4 separate regions of the Homo sapiens genome follow, and regions 1, 2 and 3 are each linked to region 4. Evidence: promoter capture Hi-C in 16 types of primary human blood cells and fetal thymus (Javierre and others, 2016). All regions are on one chromosome and are shown on one strand. The core of a region is centred on a gene start or on the middle of the fragment in contact, and the rest is flanking DNA. Distances in the headings are between cores, read along the strand shown. Region 1 has its middle 18 kb from the start of AARSD1. Region 2 overlaps RETREG3 (reticulophagy regulator family member 3). Region 3 has its middle 29 kb from the start of G6PC1. Region 4 holds the start of EZH1 (enhancer of zeste 1 polycomb repressive complex 2 subunit).

The links. The method cuts DNA at HindIII sites, captures the fragments that hold promoters and counts their contacts. A CHiCAGO score of 5 or more calls a contact.
Region 1: a fragment that was not itself captured here is called in contact with the fragment with the promoter of EZH1 in region 4 in 1 of 17 cell types (endothelial precursors); the score reaches 5.3 in endothelial precursors.
Region 2: a fragment that was not itself captured here is called in contact with the fragment with the promoter of EZH1 in region 4 in 1 of 17 cell types (erythroblasts); the score reaches 6.3 in erythroblasts.
Region 3: a contact is called between a fragment that was not itself captured here and the fragment with the promoter of EZH1 in region 4, in 2 of 17 cell types (endothelial precursors and erythroblasts). The highest score is 7.9, in endothelial precursors.

What each region holds. Positions count from the first base shown.
Region 1 is chr17:42,942,591-42,949,335 of GRCh38, forward strand. No RefSeq gene overlaps it. Among named protein-coding and RNA genes, the nearest start is that of AARSD1, 18 kb to the right of the region's middle. The HindIII fragment of the contact is 4,442 bases long and covers 1,148-5,589 here.
Region 2 is chr17:42,597,226-42,604,885 of GRCh38, forward strand. The region is part of intron 1 of RETREG3 (reticulophagy regulator family member 3); the gene reads right to left. Among named protein-coding and RNA genes, the nearest start is that of RETREG3, 8.3 kb to the right of the region's middle. The HindIII fragment of the contact is 4,096 bases long and covers 1-3,463 here.
Region 3 is chr17:42,926,298-42,933,081 of GRCh38, forward strand. It overlaps the pseudogene RNY4P2. Among named protein-coding and RNA genes, the nearest start is that of G6PC1, 29 kb to the left of the region's middle. RefSeq lists enhancers at 2,152-2,728, 2,618-2,767. The HindIII fragment of the contact is 1,916 bases long and covers 2,313-4,228 here.
Region 4 is chr17:42,742,676-42,749,877 of GRCh38, forward strand. EZH1 (enhancer of zeste 1 polycomb repressive complex 2 subunit) reads right to left here and starts at 2,365. Exons shown (of 21, transcript NM_001991.5): 1 at 2,336-2,365. RefSeq lists a silencer at 1,943-2,522. The HindIII fragment of the contact is 3,072 bases long and covers 1,183-4,254 here.

The sequences.
Region 1 (6,745 bases), core at 2,119-4,618, 200 kb after region 4:
CCACAATGCCCGGCTACTTTTTGTATTTTTAGTAGAAATGGGGTTTCACTATGTTGGCCAGGCTGGTCTTGAACTCCTGACCTCAAGCGATCCTGCTGCCTCGGCCTCCCAAAGTGCTGGGATTACAGGCATGAACCACTACACCCGGCCATAATCTCAGCACTTTGGGAGACTGAAGCAGGAGGATTACTTGAACACAGTTCTAGACCAGCTTGGGCAACATAGTGAGACCCCTGTCTCTACAAAAATTTTAAAAATTAGGCGAATGCGGTGGCATATGCTTGTAGTCCCAACTACTCAGGCAGCTGAGGCGGAAGAATTGCTTGAGTCCAGGAGATCAAGGCTGCAGTGAGACACGATCACATCACTGTACCCTGTACTCCAGCCTGGGTGACACAGCGAGACCCTGTCTCAAAAAAAAAAAAAGAGGGGGGCTTATGCATGGCCATGTGGTTGGAAGGGAAACCAGCAGACTTCCATCAAGTAAAGAAAAATATCAAGCTTTTAAAGAATTAAAGTTAACTTTATTCAGAAGTCTTGCTGAAGACTATAGATTGAGGCCTCTAGCCTAGGAGCAGGCTCTGGCCCAGTGTTTCAGATCCCTGCTTATATATAGGGGTGGAGGTTCTGTATGTGCAAAATCCCATCAGACTTGCTCAGAATTACATGAAAGCAGAATCACAGCAAGATTTGTGTGTCAGAGTACATCTGGTCCTAGATCACAGAGGCATCATCACTAACCCCGTCAGATGTCATCTTATGTATAGGAAAAGCCAGGGATTAAGGCCATTCTTTTTTTTTTTTTTTTTTTTTTTTTTTTTGAGACAGGGTCTCACTCCATCACCCAGGCTGGCATGCAGTAGCACAATCATGGCTCACTGCAGTCTCAACCTCCCCAGGTTCAGGTAATCCTCCCACCTCAGCCTTCCAAATAGCTGAGACTACAGGTGCACACCACCACGCCCAGCCAATTGTTGTATTTTTTTGTAGAGATGAGGTTTTGCCATGTTGCCCAGGCTGGAGGTCATTCATCTTTTAAGGAATGCAGTGACTCCGGCAAGAGGACAAGAGACATGGGGGCTGTGTATTCTGTTTTGTTGTCTTCAAAGCATCTTTCTGGAGAGCTGCAGGTCTTCACAGAGTCAGAAGCTTTGGAAAATTATGCTGGCAAGCAGAAATGGGCAAACATAGCTTATGTTTGCTACTTGGTCTCACACTTGTCTAAAAACTTGTGTTGCTGGCTGGGTGCAGTGGCTCATGCCTGTAAACCCAGCACTTTGGGAGGCCAAGGCAGGTGGATCATGAGGTCAGGAGACTGAGACCATCCTGGCTAACACAGTGAAACCCCGTCTCTACTAAAAATACAAAAAATTAGCTGGGTGTGGTGGCGCACACCTGTAGTCCCAGATACTTGGGAGGCTGAGCCAGGAGAATCTCTTGTACCCGAGAGGCAGAGGTTGCAGTGAGCCAAGATTGTGCCGCTTCTCTCCAGCCTGGGTGAAAGAATGAGACTCCATCTCAAAAAAAAAAAAAAAAATTGTGTTGTCTATTAAACTATGTTTGCTTTATTTCAGATGGCCTGGATGCTGGAAATTATGAGAAAACTAAATCCTCCCCCAGCCTCCTTTGACAACACCACTACCCTCTCCTACCCTCTTCCTCCCATTATTCTCTATTCGTTTACCTGCTCTCTTCCTCTCAGATTCAACAGAATTTATACTTTTACATGTATTGGATTGTTTCTTTCTTATCTTCCTTCTCCACAGCTGTAAATGCCATAACAGGGACCACGGCCAGATTACTCACCAGTGTGGCCCCAGTGCTGGGTACAATGCTTGGCACACACTACACTCTCAATAAACATCTGTCGTATAAACAAATGAATTCTGTGATTATGTATCATATGCACAAGTCAACAACAACACAAGTTATGTATTATGAAAGGGAGAACTTGCATTTTCACAGAAGAAAATGTTGATTCCTCCCTTCTTTTCTGAAACACTTGGCCTCTTAAATAATTAACTAATTTTAATTGATACATATAAAATTGTAGGCCAGGCACAATGGCTCACGCCTGTAATCCCAGCACTTTGGGAGGCTGAGGCGGGTGGATCACCTGAAGTCAGGAGTTCGAGACCAGCCTGGTGAACATGGTGAAACCCTGTCTTTACTAAAAATACAAAAATTAGCTGGGCATGGTGGTGGGTGACTGTGATCCCAGCTACTCGGGAGGCTGAGGCAGGAGAATCGCTTGAACCCAGGACAAGGAGGTTGCCGTGAGCTGAGATCATACCACTGCACTCCAGCCTGGGCGACAAGAGCGAAACTCCGTCTCAAAAAAAAAAAACTACTCTCTTTGCAATTTTCAAGAATACAATACATTAGTTTTCAGTGGTTTTGTTTTTTTGAGATTGAGTCTTGCTCTTTTGCCTAGGCTAGAGGGCAGTGGCACAATCTCGGCGCAATCTCGGCTCAGCAACCTCTGACTCCGGAGTTCAAGTGATTCTCCTGCCTCAGCCTCCTGAGTAGCTGGGACTACAGGTGTGTGCCACCATGCTCAGCTAATTTTTGTATTTTTAGTAGAGATGGAGTTTCACCATGTTGGCCAGGCTGGTCGCGAACTCCTGACCTCAAGTGATCTATCTGCCTCAGCCTCCCAAAGTGCTGGGATTACAGGCATGAGCCACCACGCCTGGCCTAATACATTGTTATTAAACACCTATAGTCATTGTGTAGTACTACAGTTATCTTAAATTTATTTCTCCTATCTTGGCCAACCAAGGTGGCTCAGGCCTGTAATCCCAGAACTTCGGGAGGCCAAGGCAGGAAGATCACTTGAGCTCAAGAGTTCAAGACAAGCCTAGGCAACATGGCAAGACCCTGTCTCCACAAAAGTAGAAAAAGTAGCCAGGTGCGGTGGTGTGTGCTTGTAGTCCCAGCTACTCAGGAGGCTGAAGTGGGAGGATCGCTTGAGCCCAGGAAAGTCGAGGCTGCAATGAGACAAGATTTCCATTGCACTCCAGCCCAGGAAACAGAGTAAGACCTTGTCTAAAAAAAAAAAAAAAGCAAACAAGCCCACAAGCAGACAAAAAAAAAAAAAAAAAATCAAAAAACTTATTCCTCCTATCTAACTAAAAGTGTGTATCCTTTGACCAACAACTCCTCAACCCCTCTCCCTCCTCCAAACTCTTGGCTTTGAGGTTGGTGTTTTAAAATGAACAGGGATATTTACTAACAGGCCTCTGCCACAGGTCACTTCTGCAGGGAGTTTATGGCTCAGCAAAAGAGAAAGCTGTCCCTGTGAGAGCCTCTTCTGCTCCAGACACAACTCCAGGTCAGTTAACTAAGTCCTACTTATTCCTTAGTTTGAAGCCTGGCACTCTGCCTGTAGTATTTTGCACAGAAGATACAGACCTTTCTAAAGAAAGAAGGAAATTCCTCCATCACTCGTTCCCAAACATCCCTACTTGCCCTCTGTTGAGAACACTAGTCATAGTTTGGATCAAATTCAGGAAAGGAATGGGAGACAGAGACGCTTTCTGAAAAAGATTTTTTTCATTAGGGCAAACACTGTCTGTTTTCCTTTTGGTACCAGGTTTTAAATAAACCCTAGAGTTTATTTAAGTTCTCATTCAGGGACAGATCTGGCATTCTAGCACAGCTTGGCCGACTCACTGGTTTCCACTCAGGACTCCAAGGCAGGGTGGAGCACAGGACACTGGCACAATGCCTTCCTGAATTCAGTCTGTGTGTGTTTGTTGTTGTTGTTGTTGTTGTTGTTGTTTTTGAGACGGAGCTTTGCTCTTGTTGCCTAGGCTGGATGGAGTGCAACGGCGCGATCTTGGCTCACTGCAACCTCCGCCTCCCGGGTTCAAGCAATTCTCCTACCTCAGCCTCCAGAGTAGCTGGGATTGCAGGCATGCGCCACCACACTTGGCTAATTTTGTATTTTTAGTAGAGGCGGGGTTTTTCCCATGTTGGTCAGGCTGATCTCAAACTCCCGACCTCAGGTGATCCACCTGCCTCAGCCTCCCAAAGTGTTGGGATTACAGGCATGAGCCACAGCGCCGGCCCTGAATTCAGTCTGTCTACTGCTCTGGGTCTCTTCCACCTGATACCTTTCATCTTTCATACTAACATCTGTTCTAGTACCTACATGCATCACCTTAGTGGAAGCTACAGCAGCTGTCTTCAGCAATTTATGGGTACGCACATAAAAAAATTTCCTTAGAAGCCAAGGAGTCCCCCTTACTATTTCTGTGCCGTAAAGTGGGTTATAGTAACATTCCAGAATATATAACCTGTGTGTGTACCTAAAACTTGATTACTCCAATAAATGAACTCATTTTGTTTCCTGGTGAACCTCATAAAAGACAATCCACCCCTTCCCCTGAACACACTCTGTTCTTCTCCCCCTCTCCCTGGGGCATTGGATTAGGGCCTCAGTGACAGGCAAGAATGACATCACCAGTTCAAAAACTGCTGCTTTATTTTCTCTTTCTTTATACAACCAATTACCATTTTCACATAATTTGCTCAAGTGTTTATGGCTTTTCTTAATTATTTCATAAGGTTCCTTCCTTCTTAGGACACCCAGTTCATGTGTCCATTTTCAGGTCAAGAAACTGAAGCTCAGGGAGTCTCAGCAGGGGGACCAGACATCCAGGCTACCTTAACACCGTCTGGGTTTCTGACTGTTGTTCTGGCATGAGGTTTGCCTAACTCTGGATATTAAAATTACATGGTTGCTCTAGGTCTAAGTGACAAGAACCCACCTGAGTGGTAGTGAGCAAGAGTGGCCTCCCAGGTCACTGTTCTTGTTGTTGCACCTGTGTTCTGAATCTTTGTGTACCCCTAAAAATTCATATGTTGAAATCCTAACCCCCTAAGTGGTATCAGGAGGTGGGCCCTTTAGCAGGTGATTAGGTCACGGGGGCAGAGCCTTCGTGAATGAAATTAGTGCATTATAAAAGAGGCCCGAGAGGGCTGGGTGCGGAGGCTCATGCCTGTAATCCCAGCACTTTGGGAGGCTGAGGCAGGCGGATCACCTGAGGTCAGGAGTTCGAGACCAGCCTGGCCAACATGGTGAAACCCCATCTCTACTAAAAATACAAAATATTAGCTGGGTGGGATGGCAGGCGCCTGTAATCCCAGCTACTCGGGAGGCTGAGGCAGGAGAATCACTTGAACCTAGGGGGTGGAGGTTGCAGTGAGCTGAGATTGCACCATTGCACTTCAGCCTGAGCAACAAGAGTGAAACTCCATCTGTCTCAAAAAAAAAAAAAAAAAAAAAAGGCCCAAGAAAGACCCCTTACCCTTTGCACCAAGGGTGCAAAAAGATGGCTATTCCTGAACCAGTATTTGAACCTTCACACCAGACACTGAATTTGCCAGCTTCCCAGCCTCCACTGTGAGAAATACATTTTTGTTGTTTATAAGCTACCTAGTTTTTGTTATTATAGCAGTCAGATCAGACTAAGGCACACCCTAAAGAAACAAACACAGAGAGGGACAGAGATCTCACACAGAGACAAATTCACATGGGTCTCTGTTCAAGATCCTGCCTGAGTCCTTCTACAAAAGTAAGGAAGCTTCTGTGAAGCAAACATTTCCCTTTCTCCCACTAATGGACCCATTTTGTATAGCATGAGTGTTACACTATGGTTTTATCTAAAACATGGCACTCTGAGAAAAGCAAGATGCAGAAGAGTATACAATGTGCTACCATTTATGTTTAAAAAGAGGGAAGATTTATGTACATCTATTTTTTAAAATACTACCAGAGGGATATATAAGAAATTGGTAACAGGCTGGGCATGGTGGCTCACGCCTGTAATCCCAACACTGGGAGGCCAAAGTGGACAAATTGCTAGAGCCCAGGAGTTCAAGACTAGTGTGGGCAACACGGCAAAGCACTGTCTCTAGAAAAAATACAAAAAATTAGCCAGGTGTGGTGGTGCACACCTCTAGTCCCAGCTACTCAGAGGGCTGAGGTGGGAGGATCACCTGTTCCCAGGAGGTTGAGACTGCAGTAAGCCATGATTGTGCCACTGCATTCCAGCCTGGGCAACAGAGTGAGACTATATCTGGAAAAAAAAAAAAAAAAAAGGCCAGGCATGGTGGCTCATACTTGTAATCCCAGCACTTTGGGAGGCCGAGGCCGGCGGATTACCTGAGGTCAGGAGCTCGAGACCAGCCTGGCCAACATGGTGAAACCCCATCTCTACTAAAAATACAAAATTAGCCGGGCATGGTGGCACATGCCTGTAATCCCAGCTACTCGGTAGGCTGAGGCAGGAGAATTGCTTGAACTCGGGAGGCGGAGGTTGCAGTGAGCGGAGACTGCGCCATTGCACTCCAGCCTGGGCAACAAGAGCGAAACTCCATCTAAAACAAAAAAATTAAGTGATTGATTCTGGAGAAAGAAATTGGGTAACTCAGTGGCAGGGTTGAAGGAAATTTTTGGTAGCACACACCTGTAATCCCAGCTACTTGGGTGGCTGAGGCACAAGAATTGCTTGAACCCAGGAAGCGGAGGTTGCAGTGAGCCAAAATCATGCCACTGCACTCCGGCCTAGGTGGCAGAACAAGACTCTTATCTCCAAAAAAAAAAAAAGTTCCTTTCAGAGTCGGAAGAACAAATAGCTGAACACAGCCACAGCCACAGCCACAGGTTATCTCCCCTGGATGTCAGCTTTTGTATTTCTCCTCTGTTATTTCATCCTGGCTGTCTAGGCCTTAACCA
Region 2 (7,660 bases), core at 166-2,665, 150 kb before region 4:
GTCGCCAGGCTAGAGTGCAGTGGCGTGATCTTGGCTCACTGCAACCTCTGCCTCCCAGGTTCAAGCAATTCTCCTGCCTCAGCCTCCTGAGTAGCTGGGATTACAGGCATGCACCGCTACGCCCAGCTAATTTTTGTATTTTTAGTAGAGACGGGGTTGCACCATGTTAGCCAGGATGATCTCGATCTCCTGACCTTGTGATCCACCCACCTCGGCATCCCAAAGTGCTGGGATTACAGGAATGAGCCACCGCGCCCAGCCAGAATCTATTTTGTGTGTGTGTGTGTGTGTGTGTGTGTATATATATATATATATATTTCGTATATATATTTTTGTGTATATATATATTTTGTGTGTATATATATATATATATATATATATATATATATATATATTTTTTTTTTTTTTTTTTTTTTTTTTTTGAGACAGAGTCTCACTCTGTCACCCAGGCTAGAGTGCAGTGGCACAGATCTCCACTCACTTCAACCTCCGCCTCCAGGGTTCAAGTAATACTCCTGCCTCAGCCTCCTGAGTAGCTGGGGTTAAGGTGTGCGCCACTGCGCCCAGCTAATTTTTGTATTTTTAGTAGAGACGGAGTTTCGTCTTGTTGGCCAGGCTGGTCTCGAATCCCTGATCTCAAGTGATCAGCTCGCCTCAGCCTCCCAAAATGTTGGGATTACAGGCATAAGCCACCGCGCCTGGCCAAGAAACGTTATTTTATACCACAAAGAAAACTCTTCTTCCTCTGAAGTTTTTTTTTTTTTTTTTTTTTTTGAGACGGAGTCTCGCTCTGTTGCCCAGGCTGGAGTACAGTGGTGCGATCTCGGCTCACTGCAAGCTCCATCTCTCGGGTTCATGCCATTCTCCTGCCTCAGCCTCCCGAGTAGCTGGGACTACAGGCGCCCGCCACCACGCCCGGCTAATTTTTTGTATTTTTAGTAGAGACGGGGTTTTACCATGTTAGCTAGGATTGTCTCGATCTCCTGACCTCATGATCCACCCGCCTCAGCCTCCCAAAGTGCTGGGATTACAGACGTGAGCCACCGCACCCGGCCTCTTCCTCTGAAGTTATTATTGTGGCTTGTTCCAAAAAAAGATAAATCTGGGACTAAAATTGATTTATGGACAAGGATTAATCTTGTTATGGAAGATGCTCACAATTTTAGCCTTCAAGACCCAGAAAATATACCCTTTATGAAACTATTGGCTTATCTTCATCTGCAGGATGAAATCCCATTACCCCGTCATAAAAGGGCCTTCATGATCTGGATCCTGCCTCTCTCCCCACACTGATTCCCTCCCTTTGTTTTTTATATTTCAGTTTTATCAAACTACTTGCAATTCCTTAAGTATCTTACTAGATTGGTGTTTTCCCTATCTGAATGTCTTCTCTCTCTTACCACACCTTTCGGCCCCATTTCCTTAACATTTATCTTGCAAATCACAGCTTAGATATCTTCCTGTTTGTTATTATTACCTGTCACGTTATATCGTGAACACAAACACACATGAATTTACTTGAGAGTAAAGTTTGTGTCTTATTTTTTTCTGTAACTGGGCTTCTTACCACAAGGCCTTGGCATGTAACAGGTACTCAAAGGTATGTTGAATTGAATTGAAGCATAGCTTATAAGAATGGAAGGTAAGGGCTGTAACAAGCAATTTAAATAGTCCAGGTCTTAGAAAACAGTCTTTTTTTTTTAATGTTTACCAGTTTATTATAAGGGATATGTTTTTATTGCCATCATCTCTGGAAAACCAACCTTCTTAGGAGAGCTTAATATCCTTTCCCTACCCTAGTTTCTATTTGTGTTAGTAATCGTGCTCTGGGAAGGGGAAATTGCCAACAGTCTGGCAAGCCTCCCTAGAGAGCCCTTTCAAGTACTCTGGAGAAAACAGCGATGCCATGTGCTGCTGCTGGGGAAGGGAAGCAGCAGCACTGGGGAGCAAGAAACCCTAGAGCTCTTCTCCTTGGCCTTGTTAAATGTGCTTGTTTGTTGGGATGATGCACTGGCTTTAGAGAGAAGATCAATGGCCTGAGGCAGCTCTAGAGGCTTATTTCTGTTAAACTGCTTTTATTCTTTAATCTTACATATAGTCACAGTATCCTTTAGGTGGTAGGCTGGAAAAATTGAAATAGGGTTGTTGGCTGGGCACAGTGGCTCATGCCTATAATCCCAGCACTTTGGGAGCCTTAGGTGGGTGGATAACCTGAGATCGGGAGTTTGAGACCAGCCTAGCTAACATGGAGAAACTCCATGTCTATTAAAAATACAAAATTAGCCGGGCGTGGTGGTGTATGCCTGTAATCTCAGCTACTCAGGAGGCTGAGGCAGGACAATCGCTTGAACCCAGGAGGCAGAGGTTGCAGTGAGCTGAGATTGTGCCATTGCATTCCAGCCTGGGTGACAGAGTAAGGCTCCGTCTCAAAAAAAAAAAAAAAAAATTATACAACTAACATGAATTCATGTTTATCGAAAAAAAAGTACAGGCATGGTGGCTCACGTCTGTAATCCCAGCACTTTGGGAAGCCAAGGCAGGTGGATCACCTGAGGTCAGGAGTTCGAGACAAGCCTGGCCAACATGGCGAAACCCCGTCTCTACTAAAAATACAAAAAATTAGCTGGGCATAGTGGCGGGCACCTGTAATCCCAGCTACTCAACAGGCTGAGGTGGGATGACAGCTTGAGTCCGGGAAACTGAGGTTGCAGCGAGCCGTTATCGTGCCACTGTACCCCAGCCTGGGTGACAGAGCGAGACCCTATCTCAAAAAACAAAAAAGCAAAACAGAAAAAACCACCTAAACACTAACAAATTGGTTTGTGGGGAAAAAAAGAGTTTAAAAAAAAAACAACAAATAAAACCACACACAACAGGCCACATGTGGTACCTAAAGCCTGTAATCCCAATACTTTGGGAGGCCGAGGCAGGAGGATCACTTGAGTCAAAGAGTTTGAGACCAGCTTAGGCAACACAGCAAGACCTCATCTCTACTGAAAAGAAAAACATTAGCTAGGTGTGGTGGTGCACGCTTGTACTCCCATTTACTTGGGAAGCTGAGGTGGGAGGATTGCTAGAGCCAGAAGGTTGAGGTTGCAGTGAGCTCTGATTGTGCCACTGCACTCCAGCTTGGGAGACAGAGCAAGACCCTGTCTCGAAAAGAAAAAAAAAAGTATCATTTATGACATTTATAAGAAAATTGGAAATGTGAACACTGACTAGAATCATTAATTTTTTGCATGTGATAATGATGGCAGATGTTTCTTAAAGTCTCTTTTTCAGAAAAATATACTGAAATACCTAGATTAAATGATATGACACATCAATAATTTGTGTCAAACAATAAGGAAGACGTAGAAAAGAACTGGGGTATGGAAGACACAAAATTGGCCAGGAATTGAAAAAAATAATATTATGTACATGGTGGCACACAATATTATTCTGCCTACTTACACATGTTTTAAGCTTTCCATAATAAAATATTTTTAAAATGATCCATTATCCACATATGTACTCTAAAAAGTGTGAAGACAGGCTATTCTCTTCATTAAAAAATTCACATATAAAAACACTATGGTTTTAAAACTTTTTCACATAATACATAGACAATTAGCCTGATGTGGTGATGAACTCCTGTGGTCTCATCAGCCATGAGGTGGAATGATCACTTGAGCTCAGGAGTTCCAGGGTACAGTGAGCCATGATCACACCACTGCAATCTAGCCTGGGTGACAGAGTGAAACCTTCTCTCAAAAAAAACAATGAATGGGCCAGGCGCAGTGGCTCAAACCTGTAATTCCAGCACTTTGGGAGGCTGAAGCAGGTAGATCACTTGACATCAGGAGTTCAAGACCAGCCTGGCCAACATGGTGAAACCCCATCTCTACCTAAAAATACAAAAATTAGCTAGGCATGGTGGCGGGTGCCCGTAATCCCAGCTACTCAGGAGGCTGAGGCAGGAGAACTGCTTGAATCCGGGAGGCGGAGGTTGCAGTGAGCTGAGATTGTGCCACTGCACTCCAGCCTGGGCAACACAGGAAGACTCCATCTCAAATAAAATAAAATAAACTAAGACGGTGGCTCAAGCCTGTAATCCCAACACTTTGGGAGGCTGAGGCAGGCAGATCACGAGATCAGGAGATCGAGACCATCCTGGCTAACACGGTGAAACCCTGGCTCTACTAAAAAATACAAAAAATTAGCCGGGAGTGGTGGTGGGCGCCTGGAGTCCCAGCTACTCGGGAGGCTGAGGCAGGAGAATGGCGTGAACCTGAGAGGCGGAGCTTGCAGTGAGCCGAGATCGCGCCACTGCACTCCAGCCTGGGCAACAGACAGAGCGAGACTCTCTCAAAAAAAAAAAAGAAAAGAAAAATAAACGAAAAATAAACTAAGAAGGTTCCAACTTTTTTTTTTTTTTTTTTTTTGAGACGGAGTCTTGCTCTTGTTGCCCAGGCTGGAGTGCAGTGGCGCGATCTCGGGTCACCACAACCTCTGCCTCCCAGGTTCAACGGATTCTCCTGCCTCAGCCTCCCAAGGTAGCTGGGATTACAGGCATGCGCCACCATGCCCGGCTGATTTGGCATTTTTAGTAGAGATGGGGTTTCTCCATTGTTGGTCAGGCTGGTCTTGAATTCCCGACCTTAGGTGACCTGCCTGCCTCGGCCTCCCAAAGTGCTGAGAATTATAGGCATGAGCCACTGCGCCCAGCCAAAAGTTTCCAATTTTTTGATGTAATAAAAGCTGAACTATACATCACTGAGCATGTTACTGGGTCAAAGGCATTAACTATTTTAAACAAATAGCTTTATTGGTCGGGCACCGTAGCTCACACCTGTAATCCCAGCCTTTGGGAGGCCGAGGCAGGTGGGTCACTTGAGGTCAAGAGTTCAAGACCACTTTGGCCAACATGGTGAAACTCCATCTCTACTAAAAATACAAAAATCAGCCAAGACATGGTGGTGCACGCCGGTAGTCCCAGCTACTTGGGAGGCTGAGGCAGGAGAACTGCTTGAATCTGGGAGGCAGAGGTTGCAGTGAGCTGAGATCATGCCACTGCACTCCAGTCTGGGCCACAGAGTAAGACTCCGTTTCAAAAAAAAAAAAGTAAGAAAATAGCTTTATTGAGATAATGGTTTGTATACGATAAAATTCTCTTTCAATTCATCTGCCAGCAGCAGAGATGAAAAAAAAATCACAATGCTGTACGACTAATAGCCTTATGTAATTTCAGAACATTTTCATCACTCCAAAAGAAACCCATACCCATTAGTATTCTTTCTCCATTTCCCCCAGCCCTGGAAAAGCTTCTTAAGTGGCTTAAAATATGTTACCAAACTACTTGCTAGAAAGGCTGTCCAATTTATGTTCCTATCAGCCATATGCCCATTTTTCCATATTTTCCCCAGAATTAATTATGATCATTAAAAATACTTAAGGCCAGGTGTGGAGGCTCACACCTGTAATCCCAGCACTTTGGGAGGCCAAGGTGGGTGGACTGCTGGAGCCCAGGAGTTCAAGACCAGCCTGGGCAACATGGTGAAACCTTGTTTCTACGAAAAATACAAAACAATTAACCAGGTGTGGTGACACACACCTGTAGTCCCCACTACCTGAGAGGCTGAGGTGGGAGGATGGCTTGAGCCCAGAGGTTGAGGTTGCAATAAGCCATGATCACACCACTGCTCTCGAGCCTGGGCGACAGTGAGATCCTGTCCCCCGCCAAAAAAAAAACTTAAGATAGAAATTAGTAAATAATTTCCATTTACATATATTTGAATTCTTTTCTTATTTGTGAGAGTGAAATTTTATATATCCATTGATTTTTTTTTCCCCTTTTGTGAACTGTCCCTCCACTCTGTCAGGGACTAAAATCCAATTAAATGATCAGTCTAAATAAAATATCCCTGGAATAGCAATTGGTGTCCAGAAACATCGTGAGAAATTCCAGAACCAAACATAAACTTTTGTGATTAACTATACCATGGAGCCTCACTATTAGTACCAGTAAATTAAAGTTTGCTATAATCATAAATAATGACCACATGTCTATTTTCAAAGACATGATTTCTAGGTTCCTTTGTTATTACAGATTAAGATTGTCTCAAGGGCACTTCAAAACAAAGCATCCCATTCTACAGGGACAGAAAGCCTGTTACTGTACAGCACTTGTGACCGCCTGGTTAATGAGCCCAAGTCACCGGTAAATTCAAAGGAAAAATTAACCCAACCTATATCATGCAGTGACAGTTGTTGCTTGCAAAAAAACCAGAAATGAAATCAGCTAGCTGCTAACAGTGGAGAGAAAGCACTCAACCATACAATTAGGGCAGATAAAAACTAAAGGTAAAGAGAGGGGAAGTAAATAAACCAAGGCATCCTTGGGAGTCTTCTCGGCTCACAAAGACAAGAACCCTGCAAAGACTATCATCAGGAACATTCACTCAACAGATTTCATTAGAAATCTGATGTGTAGCCGGGCGCGGTGGCTCACGCCTGTAATCCCAGCACTTTGGGAGACCGAGGCGGGCGGATCACGAGGTCAGGAGATTGAGACCATCCTGGCTAAAACGGTGAAACCCGGTCTCTACTAAAAATACAAAAAATTAGGTGGGCATGGTGGCGGGCGCCTGTAGTCCCAGCTACTCGGGAGGCTGAGGCAGGAGACTGGCGTGAACCCGGGAGGTGGAGCTTGCAGTGAGCCGAGATCGCGCCACTGTACTCCAGCCTGGGCGACAGAGCGAGACTCCGTCTCAAAAAAAAAAAAAAGAAAAGAAATCAGATGTGTAGATTTTTTTTAACAGAACAAATATCTCTACTTAAATGGGCTCCCCATCTTCCATTTCTTGTTTCTATTATTTTTTACTCAAATCCTAACCTTCTAACTCAGAATTGCTGTATATCCTTAATCACTTTTTTGGGTCATTTTTATTTATTTATTTTTTTGGGGGGGCGGACAAAAATAAAATTTTTACATTTCATTTGTGAAATAACAAATTCTATAATAACCTCCTAGAAATACAGTATGGTTCACTGAGACTAGTGACTGCAAAAAGCAGATCCCAACAGAGATCTCTACTTGGGACTCAGCTTGTGGACTGCTCCAAAACAATATTCCTAATTCATAGACTATGTAGATTCACAGATTGTTAAAAACCACAAAGCAGTCAAGGTGCAGTGGGTCATGCCTGTAATCCTAGCACTTTAGGAGACCAAGCCGGGAGGGCTGTTAGAGATGAGGAGTTTGAGACCAGCCTGGGCAACATATTGAGATTCTGTCTCTACAAAAGTTTTGCAAATAGGCTGGGCCCAGTGGCATGTGCCTCTAGTCCCAGCTACTTGGAAGACTGAGGCAAGAGGACTGCTGGAGCCCAGGAGGTAGAGGCTGCAGTGAGCTATGATTGTGCCACTGCACTCCAGCCTGGGCAACAGAGGGAGACCCTGTCCAGCCCAACAACCCCCGATTCCCCAGCAAAAAAAAAAAAAAAAAAAAAAAACTGAAAGAGCTCAGCAGTTATGTAGGCCTCCTTGAACTATCTCTTCATGTTAGGTGGGAGAGGGAGCTTGGAGTTCACACATTTCCAGTGTTCATTTACCCTCCTCTGATCTCAGAGTACAAGTCAAACCAAAAAGTTACCCAAACCTGTTCTTTTCTGATCCTGTC
Region 3 (6,784 bases), core at 2,021-4,520, 180 kb after region 4:
CCAGGCTGGCCTAGAACTTCTGACCACAGGTGATCTACCTGCCTCGGCCTCCCAAAGTTCTGGGATTACAGGTGTGAACCAACGAGTCCAGCTGCAATGGGCTTCGTAAATGTTCCCTGCATTCACTCTCGCCCTTTTCATATCCATTCACCAGAAGACTGATGGAGTGATCTTTTTAAACCCAAAATCTGATATCACACTCTTGCTTGAAACTTTTTAATGGATTATCACTGTTCTTAGGATATAAATCTTTATTATGAAAAACTTGGCCAGGCGCCGTGGCTCATGCCTGTAATTCCAGCACTTTGGAAGGCCGAAGAGATAGGATTGCTTGAGTCCAGGAATATAAGACCAGCCTGAGCAACGTAGTGAGACCCCCGTCTTTATTTTTTGCTTTTTTGTGTGTTTTTTCATTTCTGCTTTTTTTTTTTTTTTTTAAGACGGAGTCTTGCTCTGTTGCCCAGGCTAGAATGCAGTGGCTTAATCTCAGCTCACTGAAACCTCCACCTCCCAGGTTCAAGCAATTCTTCTACCTCAGCCTCCCGAGTAGCTGGGATTACAAGCACACACCACCACATATGGCTAATTTTTATGTTTTTAGTAGAGACTGGGTTTCACCATGTTGGTCAGGCTGGTCTTGAACTCCTGACCTTAAGTAATACACCCGCCTCGGCCTCCCAAAGTACTGAGATTACAGGAGTGAGCCACCCTGTCTGGTCTCACTTCTTTTTGTATCTTTTTCCTTCATCTTTTATTTTCTACCCATCTCTCCATTTTTAAATTAATACATACATAAATTTTAAAAAGGAAAAAAACTTGTACATGAATATTCAGAGCAGGATTATTCATAATAGCTAAAAAGCAGAAACAACCTGAATGTCCATCAACTAATGATAAATAAACAAAATATAGCCTAGCCATAGAGTGCAATATTATTTGGCCATGGAAGGAATGAAGTATGAATACATGCTAGAGTGTGGATGAACCTTGAAAACATTATACTAAGTGAAAGAAGCAAGGCACAAAAGATCACATACCATATAATTCCATTTATAGAAATGTCCAGAATCGGCAAATCCATAGAGACAGAAAGTAGATTGGTGGTTGCCTAAGGCTAGATGTTTGGGGGAAATGGAGAGTGACTGCTGAAGGCTGCAGGGTTTTTTTTTTAGGGTGACGAAAATGTTCTCAAATTGACTGTGGTTATGTACAACTCTGTGAATATACTAAAAACCAATGAATTGTATTTTTTTCTTTTTTTAATTTCTTTCTTTTTTTTTTTTTTTTTTGAGAGAGTCTCACTCTATTACCCAGGCTGGAGCACGGTGGCATGGTCATAGCTCACTGCAGCCTCAACCTCCTGGGCTCAAGAGATCCTCCCAACTTAGCCTCCAGAGTAGTTGGGAATACAGGTAGATACCACAATGCCTGGGTAACTTTTTAATTTTTCATAGAGATGAAGTTGCACTGTGTTGCTCAGGCTGATCTCAAACTCCTGGCCTCAAGCAATCCTCCCACCTTGGCTTCCCAAAGTGCTGGGATTATAGGCATGAGCCACCATGCCCGGCTGAATTGTACATTATTTATTTATTTTATTTTATTTTTTTGAGACAGAGTTTTGCTCTCATCCCCCAGGCTGGAGTGCAATGGTGTGATCTCAGGTCACTGCAACTTCCGCCTCCCAGGTTCAATCAATTCTCCTGCCTCAGCCTCCCGAGTAGCTGGGATTACAGGCACCCACCACCACACCAGGCTAATTTTTATATTTTTAGTAGAGATGGCGTTTCACAATGTTGGCCAGGCTGGTCTCAAACTCCTGACTTCAAGTGATCCACCCACCTTGGCCTCCCAAAGTGCTGGGATTACAGGTGTGAGCCACCGCACCCCAGCCACAGCATTTCTTTTCTTTTCTTTTCTTTTTTTTTTCTTTTTGAGATGGAGTCTCTCTCTGTTGCCCCAGACTGGAGTGCAGTGGCGCAATCTCAGCTCACTGCAACCTCCACCTCCTGGATTCAAGTGATTCTCCTGCCTCAGCCTCCCAAGTAGCTGGGATTACAGGCATGTGCCACCATACCCAACTAATTGTATTTTTAGTAGAGACGGGGTTTCAGTATGTTGGCCAGGCTGGTCTTGAACTCCTGGCCTCAAGTGATCCACCTGTCTCTGCTTCCCAAAGTGCTGGGATTACAGGCATGAGCTACCTCAACTGGCTACCAAATTGTGCATTTTAAATGTGTGAATTTTGTGGTGTGTGAATTATATCTCAATAATGCTCTTACCAAAAAAAAAAAAATCTTTATATGGCCTCTGAAAGCTTACCTCAGCTGGACCTTGTCTACCGCACCTCACCTGGTCTCCTTCACCTCATTCCACAAAGCACAGCCAATGTCATCTTGGTTCCTCCAATGCAACACACTCCAGCCCTCCTCCGAGCTTGGGCTTTTACACACCCCCCTTCTTAGAACACTCTTCTGCCTCTTCACATAATTCAGTCCTCCACATTGGTATCACTTTCTCAAGGAAGCCTCCCTGCCCACCCACCATGAGTCATGATCAAGTTCCTCTTCTGGGCCTGCCAAAGCACCCCTTTTACTTTGCTCTCTACCAAACGTCACTTTGTGATTATTTGGATCATGTCCGTCTTCCCCACTAGACTAGGCCCCATGAGTGCAGCTCCATGCCTGCTTTGCTCACTCTTGCACTTAAACCCTGTGCCTAGCCCTGGCCTAACACATGAGGAGGACTCCAGATATCTTGGTTGAATAATAAATGAGCAATATATTACTGTTTGCCCCTAACTTGGAAAACAAATGATAGGTTCAACAATTCTAGAGCTCCACAAATGACTCAGCAAAAACATGTTCGGAGGCACTCCCAACGTGAAATTAGAAGGTTGGAAACTCAGAGGACGGGACAGGCTTAGATAGAAACATTGGCCTCTTCCCAGGTAAGTTCTCCCCAGGAGGTGGGGAGCAAACTCTCTGAGCAGCCAGTTACAGGGAACTCATGACTAAGCTCTGTTGCTGTTTATCAAGATACACACTGACTCTCAGAAGTTCTAGCGTGAACCAAATCCTGCTTCAACCCCATGGGCTTTCAGTGTAGGACTTTTTCTTTTTGTTGGTGATCACACACCCTACTGGTGGCTTAACCAATTACATTGCCTCAGCCCCTGTGACACTCCAGCTCCGCGTCCCCTTTATGATGCTTCAAATATCATAAAAGCAGAGAAAAATCATATGTCATATATCAGAAAATCATATATCAACTTTTTTTTATTTTGAGGTCTTTCACACACTGAACTTATTTTAATCATAATTGTCAATTATAAATAAACATAATTACTATGTTCCTTTTTTGATGTCAAATTGTTGCAATTTGGACAGTGGCTTCCTTATCCTTCTACCATTGCTGGCCTAAAATCCTTGTGTTCTAGGCCCATTCCAAATTTTCCTTGTTCCAAGACACAGAATCAGCCACCCACTAAGAAGTCTCATTTCCTTTTGATGGGTGCACGAGAGTGGGAGGTTAGCAGAAGAAATGCTGTTAATGGGCTAGGTGCAGTGGCCTAGCCTGTAATCCCAACACTTTGGAAGGCTGAGGCAGGAGGATCACCTGAGGTCAGGAGTTCGAGACCAGCCTGGCCAACATGGGGAAACCCCATATCTACTAAAAATACAAAAAATTAGCTGGGCGTGGTGGTGTGTGCCTGTAATCCCAGCTACTCAGGAGGCTGAGCCAGGAGAATTGCTTGAACCCAGGAGGCGGAGGTTGCAGTGAGCTGAGATCATGCCACTGCACTCCAGCCTGGGCAACAGAGAGAGACTTCATCTCAAAAAGGAAAAAAAAAAAAAGAAGAAGGAAAAGAAATGCTGTGGCCAGGGCATGGTGGCTCACGCCTGTAATCCCAGTACTTTGGGAGGCTGAGGCAGGTGGATCATGAGGTCAGGAGCTCAAGACCAGCTTGGCCATTATGGTGAAACCCCATCTCTACTAAAAATACAAAAATTAGGCAGATGCCTATAATCCCAGCTACTCAGGAGGCTGAGGGAGGAGAATCACTTGAACCTGGGAGGCAGAGGTTCAGTGAGCCAAGATTGAGCCACTACAGTCCAGCCTGGCAACAGAGCGAGACTCCATTTCAAAAAAAGAAAAAAGAAAAAGAAAAAGAAATGCTGTTAATGAACTGTATTTTAGGGTCAGAGCCAGGAAATTATATTTCTCTTAAAGCTTATGGGTTCACAATAATGTTTCCAATTGAACTCTATGTTGTAATTTTTTATTCAATATAAAATATTTTCAGGCCAGGCCCGGTGGCTCATGCCTGCAATCCCAACACTAGAAGGCAAGACGGGAGAATTGCTTGAGACCCAGAGTTCAGGACCAGCCTGGGTAACATACCGCAACCCCCTCTCTATAAAAGAAAAAAAAGATATAATTGTTTTCATTTATTTTATCTGCAATATTCCTGCATAGAGATTTAATCTTCACCCTCACTATAATTGCATTTCCTTTACTAGCCCTCATTTGCCTTGCCAACCGCCATTATACCGTCCCTTTGCTGATGGTGATGTCTGTTGGCTTGGTCTCCTTGTTCTGGTTGACCAGACTATCCTCCTGTTATAAACAGCAGGAAACACAACCCCAAAACACACATACACACACACTGGAAGCCTACATGAATTTCACATGCATCGTTTGAGGCAGCCTCCTGAGAGCCAGTCATCCTTCCAAGACAGTGACTGCTTCGGGAGTAAAATCATAACTGAGAGAGTCTCAGGGAACTTTGTTGTTGTTTTACTGAGTTGACATTTGGGAAGTTTAAGGTCTTTATTGCTCTGACAGAGTATTTTAACTTAATTTTTTTTGTTGAGACAGAGTCTTGTTATGATGCTCAGGTTGCTCTCGAACTCCTGGGCTTGAGTGATCCTCCTGCCACAGCCTCCTGAGCAGCTAGGATTACGTAGGTGCACGTCACCATACCTGGCTCTTTATCTTGCTTTTTGTCATTAGAAAAGTATCACACAAATGAATTACAAAGAAGATCATTTCATTCAGAAATGTTGGAAACTACTGAAAAGTATAAAGATGAAACTAAAAATCACTCCAATCTCATCATCCAGAAATAACTGAGGGCCAAGGCACAGTGGCTCGCATGTGTAATCCCAGCACTTTGGGAGGCTGAGGCAGGAGGATCACTTGAGCCCAGGAGTTCAAGACCTGCCTGGGCAATATAGGGAGACTCTATCTCTACAAAAAAACACAAAAATACGAAATTACAAAAGAAACAAATAACTGAAGCTAACATTTTGAAAAAAGAAGTAGGCCGGGCGTGGTGGCTCACGCCTGTAATCCCAGCACTTTGGGAGGCCAAGGTGGGCTGATCACCTGAGGTCAGGAGTTCAAGACCAGACCGACCAATGTGATGAAACCCCGTCTCTACTAAAAATACAAAAATTAGCTGGGCATGGTGGCACATGCCTGTAATCCCAGTTACTCGGGGACTGAGACAGAAGAATCACTTGAACCTGGGAGGCAGAGATTGCAGTGAGCCGAGATCGCACCATTGCACTCCAGCCTGGGCAACAAGAGTGAAACTCCATCTCAAAAAAAAAAAAAAAAAAAAGAATACTGAGAATATGAAAAACCTTTTTTTTTCTAGATCCATCAATGCCTCTTGAAGAGAGTATCAAAAATCAATATGAAACTGAAAGAGCTACTGAACTGCAGACAAAAATTTCATCAGATACATCAGAGATTTCTCTAAAGGTTAAAAAGAAACGTGAGAAATATTAAAAGTCAATTGCCTGGTGTGGTGGCTTGCACCTATAATCCCAGCTACTTGAGAGGCTGAGGCAGAAGAATCCTTTGAGCCCAGAAGTTAGAGTTTACAATAAGTTCTGATTGCACTACTGCACTCCAGCCTGGGCCACAAGACAAGAAGACTCTGTCTCAAAAAAAAAAAAAAAAAAAGAGTCAGTTGTACTATTCTGCTTTGTGGTTTTGTGTATTAATCTGCAATTTATAGAGTTTTAATGAAAAGTCATCAGTGTTGGTAGAATGCTGATTTAAATGTATTTATGAGAAAATGTCACCTTGTCACCTGAGTTAAAACACACAATCAAAATGGCAGGGTGAAAACTGTGGACTCCAAAGTTCATGCTTTCACTAATTTCTTTTCTTTTTAAAAAAACATTTTTGGCCGGGCGCAGTGGCTCACGCCTGTAATCCCAGCACTTTGGGAGGCCAAGGTGGATGGATCACAAGGTCAGGCGATTGAGAACATCCTGGCTAAAACAGTGAAACCCCATCTCTACTAAAAATACAAAAAAATTAACCAGGTGTGGTGGCGGGCGCCTGTAGTCCCAGCTACTCGAGAGGCTGAGTCAGGAGAATCTCTTGAACCCGGGAGTTGGAGGTTACAGTGAGCTGAGATCGTTGCCACTGCACTCCAGCCTGGGTGAGAGAGCAAGACTCAATTGCAAAAAAAAAAAAAAACCTGGCAGGTAACTGTGTTTTGTTTTATTCTTAACTAATGTTTCTTTTTTTCTTAATCCAGTGAAATTTAGCAATGGGGGGTTGTATACCAACTTTAGTGACACTAATGTTAATAAGTTCTGATGACCCACTACCATCGGACCAGCCTAATGTTTCTTAATGAGAAACATTTCTTTCTGGGTGGTTAAACTTAATCAACCGTCCCATAAAAACAAGAAGACTCCTCTGCTGCCTAACTAAACAATCAAAAAACCAATTTTTTAATTTAAAAAAAAGGTTTAAGATT
Region 4 (7,202 bases), core at 1,115-3,614:
TCTACTATGTGTTACCATTTTAGGTGTTTGGGGTACATCAATGAATAAAACATATATCCCTGCCTTTGGAGTTGATTCATTATGTTTGTGACACACAACAATAAGCATAAACCTTGACAATGATAGCATTATTACAGTTTTATAGATAGTCCTTTCTCCTATTATGTATGTGCGTTTTTAAGTACTTCTCTCTCCCTTTTTTTTTTCTTTTTTGAGATGGAGTCTTGCTCTGTCACCCATGCTGCAATGCAGTGGTGCATGTCGGCTCACTGCAACTTCCACCTCCCAGGTTCAAGCGATTCTCGTGCCTCAACCCCCTGAATAGCTGGGATTACAGGCACCCACCACCACGCCCAGCTAATTCTTGTATTTTTGTAGAGAAGGAGTTTCGCCATGTTGCCCAGGCAGCTCTCGGACTCTTGACCTCAAGTGATCCGCCTGCCTTGGCCTCCCAAAGTGCTGGGATTACAGGCCTGAGCCACTGTGCCAGGCCTCCTTTTTTTTTTTTTTTTTTTGACAGAATCTCACTCTGTTGCCCAGGTTGATGTGCAGTGGTGCAATCTCGGCTCACTGCAACCTCCACCTCCCGGTTCAAGCGATTCTAATGCCTCAGCCCTCCCGAGTAGCTGGGACTACAGGCGTGTGCCACCACACCTGATTAATTTTTGTATTTTTAGTAGAGATGGAGTTGTCCCATGTTGCCCAGGCTGGTCTCAAACTCCTGGGCTCGAGTGAACGGTCCACCTCAGCCTCCCAAAGTGTTGGGATTACAGGCATGAGCCACCGTGCCAGGCTTTTTTTTTTTTTCTTGAGACAGGGTCTCAGGTGCTGTCACCCAGACTGGAGTGCAGTGGCAGGATCAGAGCTCATTGCAACCTTGACCTCCCAGTCTCAAGCAATACTCCTGCTTCAGCCTCCCAAGCAGCTGGGACTATAGGAGAAGGCCACCACATCTGGCTATTTTTTTTTTGTAGAGATGAGGTCTCGCTATTGTTGCCTGAGCTGGTCCCAAACTCCTGGGCTCAAGCTATTCTCCTGCCTGGGCCTCCCGAATGCTGGGATTTCAGATATGAGCCACCGAGCCCAGTCTAAAGTACTTATCTCCTAACACACACTCTCTCCTATGTAAGTAATCTCTTTTATCAGTGGCATATCTGGGGATTCCAAGACTTAAAATAGACAAGCTTTCACAGAAACCTCTAATAGGGTTAGCACCTTCTCAGGCTGGAAACCTCCTTCAATATCAGTTTCCTAAATTTAAAAAACATGGGGTGTGGGAATTTTTTTATTCAGCGGCAGTATGGCAGCAAACGTGGAGGAGACTCGCGTTTTCATTGCCATCCTTGCACCCACCTAATTGTTAGTGTACCTGAGCTCCTTTGCTTTCATCCTCCCCTGCCAAGCGTCAGGTTCCTATCGGCCTGGGCTACATCACATACAACCCTGTATTTCACCCTCCATATTCCTTCACATTCCACGGGGGGCACTAACATCCTTCAGGTATCCCTTCCCTTCCCTGCTCAAGAAACAATTCCTCAGTAGTCACTTTTTATTGAAATAAAAGTTTGTCCCACATTTCCTAACAGGCATGTCCCAAATACAACACCTTGTCTGTGCTTCAAGGCACTTTTATTTATATCATTTGATCCTCGGTTGAATGGTGGGGGTGAGCGATCATTGGCGTGAGACCAAAAGTCTGGAGTGAAGGAGATTCTTGCTCAGGGCCAGGCCTGGGGTGAGGCGACCGAGGCACCCAGGACGCACGTGAGGAGGCGCTCACTGCACTTGCGCGACCCTGAGTCAGTGCTCCTTTACACTTTGTGCCTTGGGAGCCTTACTCACCTCACCCTAGTCCCGGCCTTGTTTTTACTGCTACCCCTCCTCAACATCCCCGAAAGCCATCGCAAGATCAGCCCCGGTCTCTAGCCCTCCCCAAGCACAGCTCCAGGTCCCCAGAGTCCACCTCGCTAAAGGCCCCCGCAGGTGCCACCGCCCTCCCGCGCCCTTTGGGCGCTGGGGCTCCCGCCCACCGGCCCACACCGCCATCCAACGGGATTCCCCGTCCCCGAGCCCGCCCCCGCCGCTCCTCCTCCCGGGCACACAGCCCTCGCAGCCCCAGACGCTGTCCTCGCCTGGGTCTCTCTCGCCCCGTCGCCCCCATTCCCCCACCCTCGGAATGAGGAGGGGCGCCTGCTACCCCCGGCCAGGCAGGCAGTGTGTCCCTCGGATTCCTTCCAATTTCCTGATCCCTCCGCCTCTCCCTCCCTCAGGCCCAGGGCGGCGAGGGGAGGAGGCCCGGCCCCACCGCCCGGCCCAGGCTTGTTTACTCACTCACCCTCCATCCCGAGCCGCGGGTCCCGCTGCTAGGACGCATGCGCGCCGCGGCCCCACCCCTGCGCCGTGCCCCGCCCCGCGCCTCCTGTCGGCGCGTGCGCATTGACTTACCCGTGCCGCGCGGACGCACTACTGTCATTTGCCGCCAAAACCCCGCACTCAGGAGTCCTGGCGGGTGCAGCCTCCCAGACGGCTTCCAAAGCGGCGCTGGCAGGGGAGGGGAAGGGCTCTGGGGAAACCTTCGCAGAGCCACTAATATCTTCCTGAAGACCCTATTCAGCGGATTTGCCATCCCCACGCGCTGGTGACAAGCCACATCTCACTTCAGCGTTTGAAGCCAACCCAGATCACCTTCATACCGATGCTTCACCCCTACCAGTTCTCCAGACACCGGTCTATGGGTTCTAAGCCCTTTATTTATGTCTGATCTCCCTATTTCTGTTCATAGTTTTCTAGTCACTTAGAATCAAAATTATAGCCTTGTATCGAAATAAATCCCCACAAGACACCTGCTAGTTACAAAGGGAAAAAAATAGCAACTTTACAGATAAGAATCTGTCAGACACCACCTTAACTAAGTGATCAAAGTTAGCATCACTAGTGATAAGAGGTATTGTTTTCTTCTTCTTTTTTTGCCGGGGGGCGAGGCTGGACGGAGTCTCGCTTTGTTACTTACACAGGCTGGAGTGCCGTGGCGCGATCTCGGCTCACTGCAACCTCTCCCTCCCGGGCTCAAGCAATTCTCCCGCCTCAGCCTCCCAAGTAGCCAGGAATACAGGTTCGTGCCACCACGCCCGGCTAATTTTTGTATTTTTAGTAGAGATGGGGTTTCACCGTATTGGCCAGGCTGCTGTCAAACTCCTGACCTCAAGTGATCTGCCTACCTCGGCCTCCCAAAGTGCTGAGATTACCGGCATGAGCCACCACGCCCGGCCTCCCTCTTCTTTTTAAGGAGACAGGGTCTTGCTGTGTTGCCTAGGCTGGTCTTGAACTCCAGGGTTCAAGCCATCCTCCCACCTTGATTTCCCAAAGTGTTGGGATTACAGGCATGAGCCATTGCCCCCAGCTGAGAGGTATTCTTACCAGGTCCCTCTGAACATGATGCAATGAGAAGCGCACAAAATCACTTCTGTGGTATTCTTGACGAACACGCATAAGCTGATTTTTTGTGCGTGTTGTTTGTTTGTTTGTTTTGAGACAGTTTCACTCTTGTTGCCTAGGCTGGAGTGCAATGGTGCAATCTCGGCTCACTGCAATCTCTGCCTCCTGGGTTCAAGCGATTCTCCTGCCTCAGCCTCCCAAGTAGCTGGGTTTACAGGCATGCACTACTATACCCGGCAAATTTTGTAATTTTAGTAGAGATGGGGTTTCACCATGTTGTCCAGGCTGGTCTCGAACTGCTGACTCAGGTGATCCCCCCACCTCTGCCTCCCAGTGCTGGGATTACAGGCATGAGCCACAATGCCCAGCCTGCATAAGCTGAATTTAATTATGAGGAAACATCAGACAAATCCAAAATGAGAGACAATCTACAAAATAACTGGCCAGTATCTTCAAGTGTCAAGATCATGAAAGACAAGGGGTGAGAAACCATCTCAGATTGGGAGACTGAGGAGATATGACAACTAAATGTAATGTGTGATCCTGGCTTGAATCCTGGTCCAGAAAAAGAACACCAGTGGGATAATTTGATGAAATTAGAATAAAATCTCTAGATTAATTAATAGTATTTTATCAATCTTATTCCTGGTTTTAATCATTGTAATTGAGGAAGTTTGATGGACATATAGGAACTCTACCATATTTGCAACTCTATTAAATCTGAAATTATTTCAAAATATAAATTTTTAAAATTACAAATTAAAATGCAAAATAATAACATCTTGATTTTGATTTTGTCTCAAAGTGTATAATTAGAAAAGCTTATAATGTTCATTTTTTCAAGTAATCTTCATAACAACTGTATGAAGTACGTAGGGCAACTTCAGTTTACACATCAGGTTATTCTGGCCTAAAGGAGTTAGAAGACTTGCCTTACACAGATGAATAATTCTGTCAGGTCTTAAACTCAGGTCGCTGGATTCCAACCAGATTTAGTGTTCTTTTCCTTATATAAAAACTTTGCTGTTTTTCCCTTGCCCCTATCCATTTAACTACCAAATCAAGGAAAATATTCCTTTATACTGGCATTCCTTTCTGTTCCCGCTGCCTTCAAGATAAGTGGTTCTCAAACTTGGCTCACACTTGGGGAGCTTGGGGAACTTTGTTTTTGAGATGGAGTTTCACTCTTGTTGCCCAGGCTGGAGTGCAATGGCGCGATCTCAGCTTACCGCACGCAACCTCTGTCTCCCAGGCTGAAGCGATTCTCCTGCCTCAGCCTTCCCGAGTAGCTGGGATTACAGGCATGCGCCACCATGCCTGGCTAATTTTGTATTTTTAGTAGAGACAAGGTTTCTCCATGTTGGTCAGGCTGGTCTTGAACTCCCGACCTCAGGTGATCCGCCCGCCTTGGCCTCCCAAAGTGCTGGGATTATAGGCGTGAGCTACCGTGCCCAGCCAAGGAGTTTTAAAACTACTGATGCCCACCTCCCACACCCAAAAGTCTGATTAATTGATCTAGGGTATGGCCTGAGCTTCAAGAGTTTTTAAAGCATCCAGGTGATTACAATGTGTAGTGAAGTTTGAGAGCCACTGCACAACATTAATAATTGTTGGGAGAAAGACTGTGGCTTTAGCTAGGGAGAGCTGTCCAGAAGATCTGAATGTCAGGAGAGAGACTAGTGAGAGATTTGGAAACCATCAACATATTGATGGTAACTGAAGCCACAGAAGTGGACAACACTGCCTTAGGAGAAGATGCCAAATAACAAGAGAGTAGATACAAAGACATTTTGACATAACAAAGTATGGTTACAGAAATATTTTCAGGTGGAAAGGAAGTTGAAGGGATTTATGCCAAAGCTGTAGATCAGAATCTGATCTACAGCCTAACCTAAGTTCCCTCTCTTCATTAAACCTTCTAGCCCTCCTGGATTTCCCAGCCCTTCAACTTCAGTATCACTTTACACTCACTACTACACTGTATATCTCTTTCACCTCCACCATGATAGGACTACACACAGGGCTTAGTAACCCTCATTCATGGAAGGATTACAAAAATAACTTTCAGCCAGGCTCAGTGGCTCACACCTGTAATCCCAGCACTTTGGGAGAATGAGGCAGGCAGATTGCTTGAGTTCAGGAATTTGAGACCAGCCTGGGCAACACGATGAAACCCCGTCTCTACAAAAAACACAAAAAAATTAGCCAGGCATGGTGGTGTGGGCCGGTAGTCCCAACTACTCAGGAGACTGAGGTGGGAAAATCGCCTGAGTCTGGGAAGTCAATACTGCAGTGAACCATAATTGCATCACTGCACTCCAGCTTGGGCAATGGAATGAGAACCTGTCTCAATAATACTAACAATAATAATAAAAACAACTTTCCACACCACCAATAAGCGTGAGGTTCTTGGAGGAAAATTTGTTTGCCAGTTGCTTCCTCCTTATTGTGATGAGAGAGTTTTTCCTGAGACCAGACCCTTTCTTAGCTGACATTTCCTGAGACATTATCAGCCAAACTTTAGCTAGCTCTTCTTCTACAATTCTTTTTCTTTTGCAACCCTTCAGGTCTTTGTCCTGTAAATTCGTAGAAAAACTGCTGGCAAGTGGTCAGCAACTGGACCTTTGAAAAACAGTACAATCACCCCTGCCCCACTCCTCCCGGCCCCACCCCCAGGCAGTTAATGGGAGAAGGGAATAACTGTGTCACTCCTGGCTTCCAGTTGCTCATCTTGCTTTAAATTGGAGGCCTCTGGGGCTGAAAGAAACTGGACAAAGTGTGCTAAGTAGCCTAATAGGGCTGGTTCTTTTTCTGAAAGTTCCCTATTGCAGAAAAATAAAATTATGTGTTTAATTTTTGAAACCTGATGCCTGATTTGCCTTGGCAGCTACTCTCCTGGGCTTGGCCCAGAGTCCAGCAACCCTAGTATACTGATTAATACCAGCTCAACTTGCTCCCTGGGGAAGAAGAGCATTATTTACTTGACCGTTTTCTTAAATCCTTTTTAATTTCCTTATATTTTAGCATAATCTTCTTGGCTTTAACATGCTGTATCTTTGACCACTGGCCCCAGCGAAGCCTTAGGGAAGACCGCTCTGCTCTGTACACTCATATCCCCATCACAAAGCAAGATTGTGTTCAAGCCCATGATTAGAAATGACATGTCACGTGTTCTAGTCCTTCTGGGACGGGCGAGTTCTAAGTGTACTTTCGTCCCCTGCTGGTCCTCAGGCCACTGGTAGAAAGGGAAGGAGATGATGCTCCTCAGAATCCAAACAGAGCTCTCTGCACTAGTATTCCTGCCTTCCAACCTGAGCCCCCTTCGGACAGTGACCCATTGGCCTGTTGCGCCCCTCCCTTGTAATGCCCACAGAGATATCAAACAGCAATTTTCAGAGGGGACACAGCAGACTGAGGAAAGGCTGGGCCACAGACAGTCCCTGACAGGGAACTGTAAACACAGCTGTGGAGATGGGAGCAAACCATCCTCCCTCCCCCAGTTCCAACCCAGAAGCAGGGAAAGGCCACCCTGCCATGAAAAAACAAACAAGAAAACAAAGCAAAGCACAACCCAAAAGCTGCACGAAGGTCACCAGAAACTGGGGCTGCTGCCCAGGACTTGGTGGGGCCCGTTGAAGTGCCAGACCCCTCCCTGAACACTTAGAGGTGAAGGCAGCTCCAAAGCAGTTGAGATCTGGACATTACAGAGCCTGGAAACAGGGCTCAATTTTTGAAGCCTCTCCACTCCGGACACTTTGTCCTCTGAT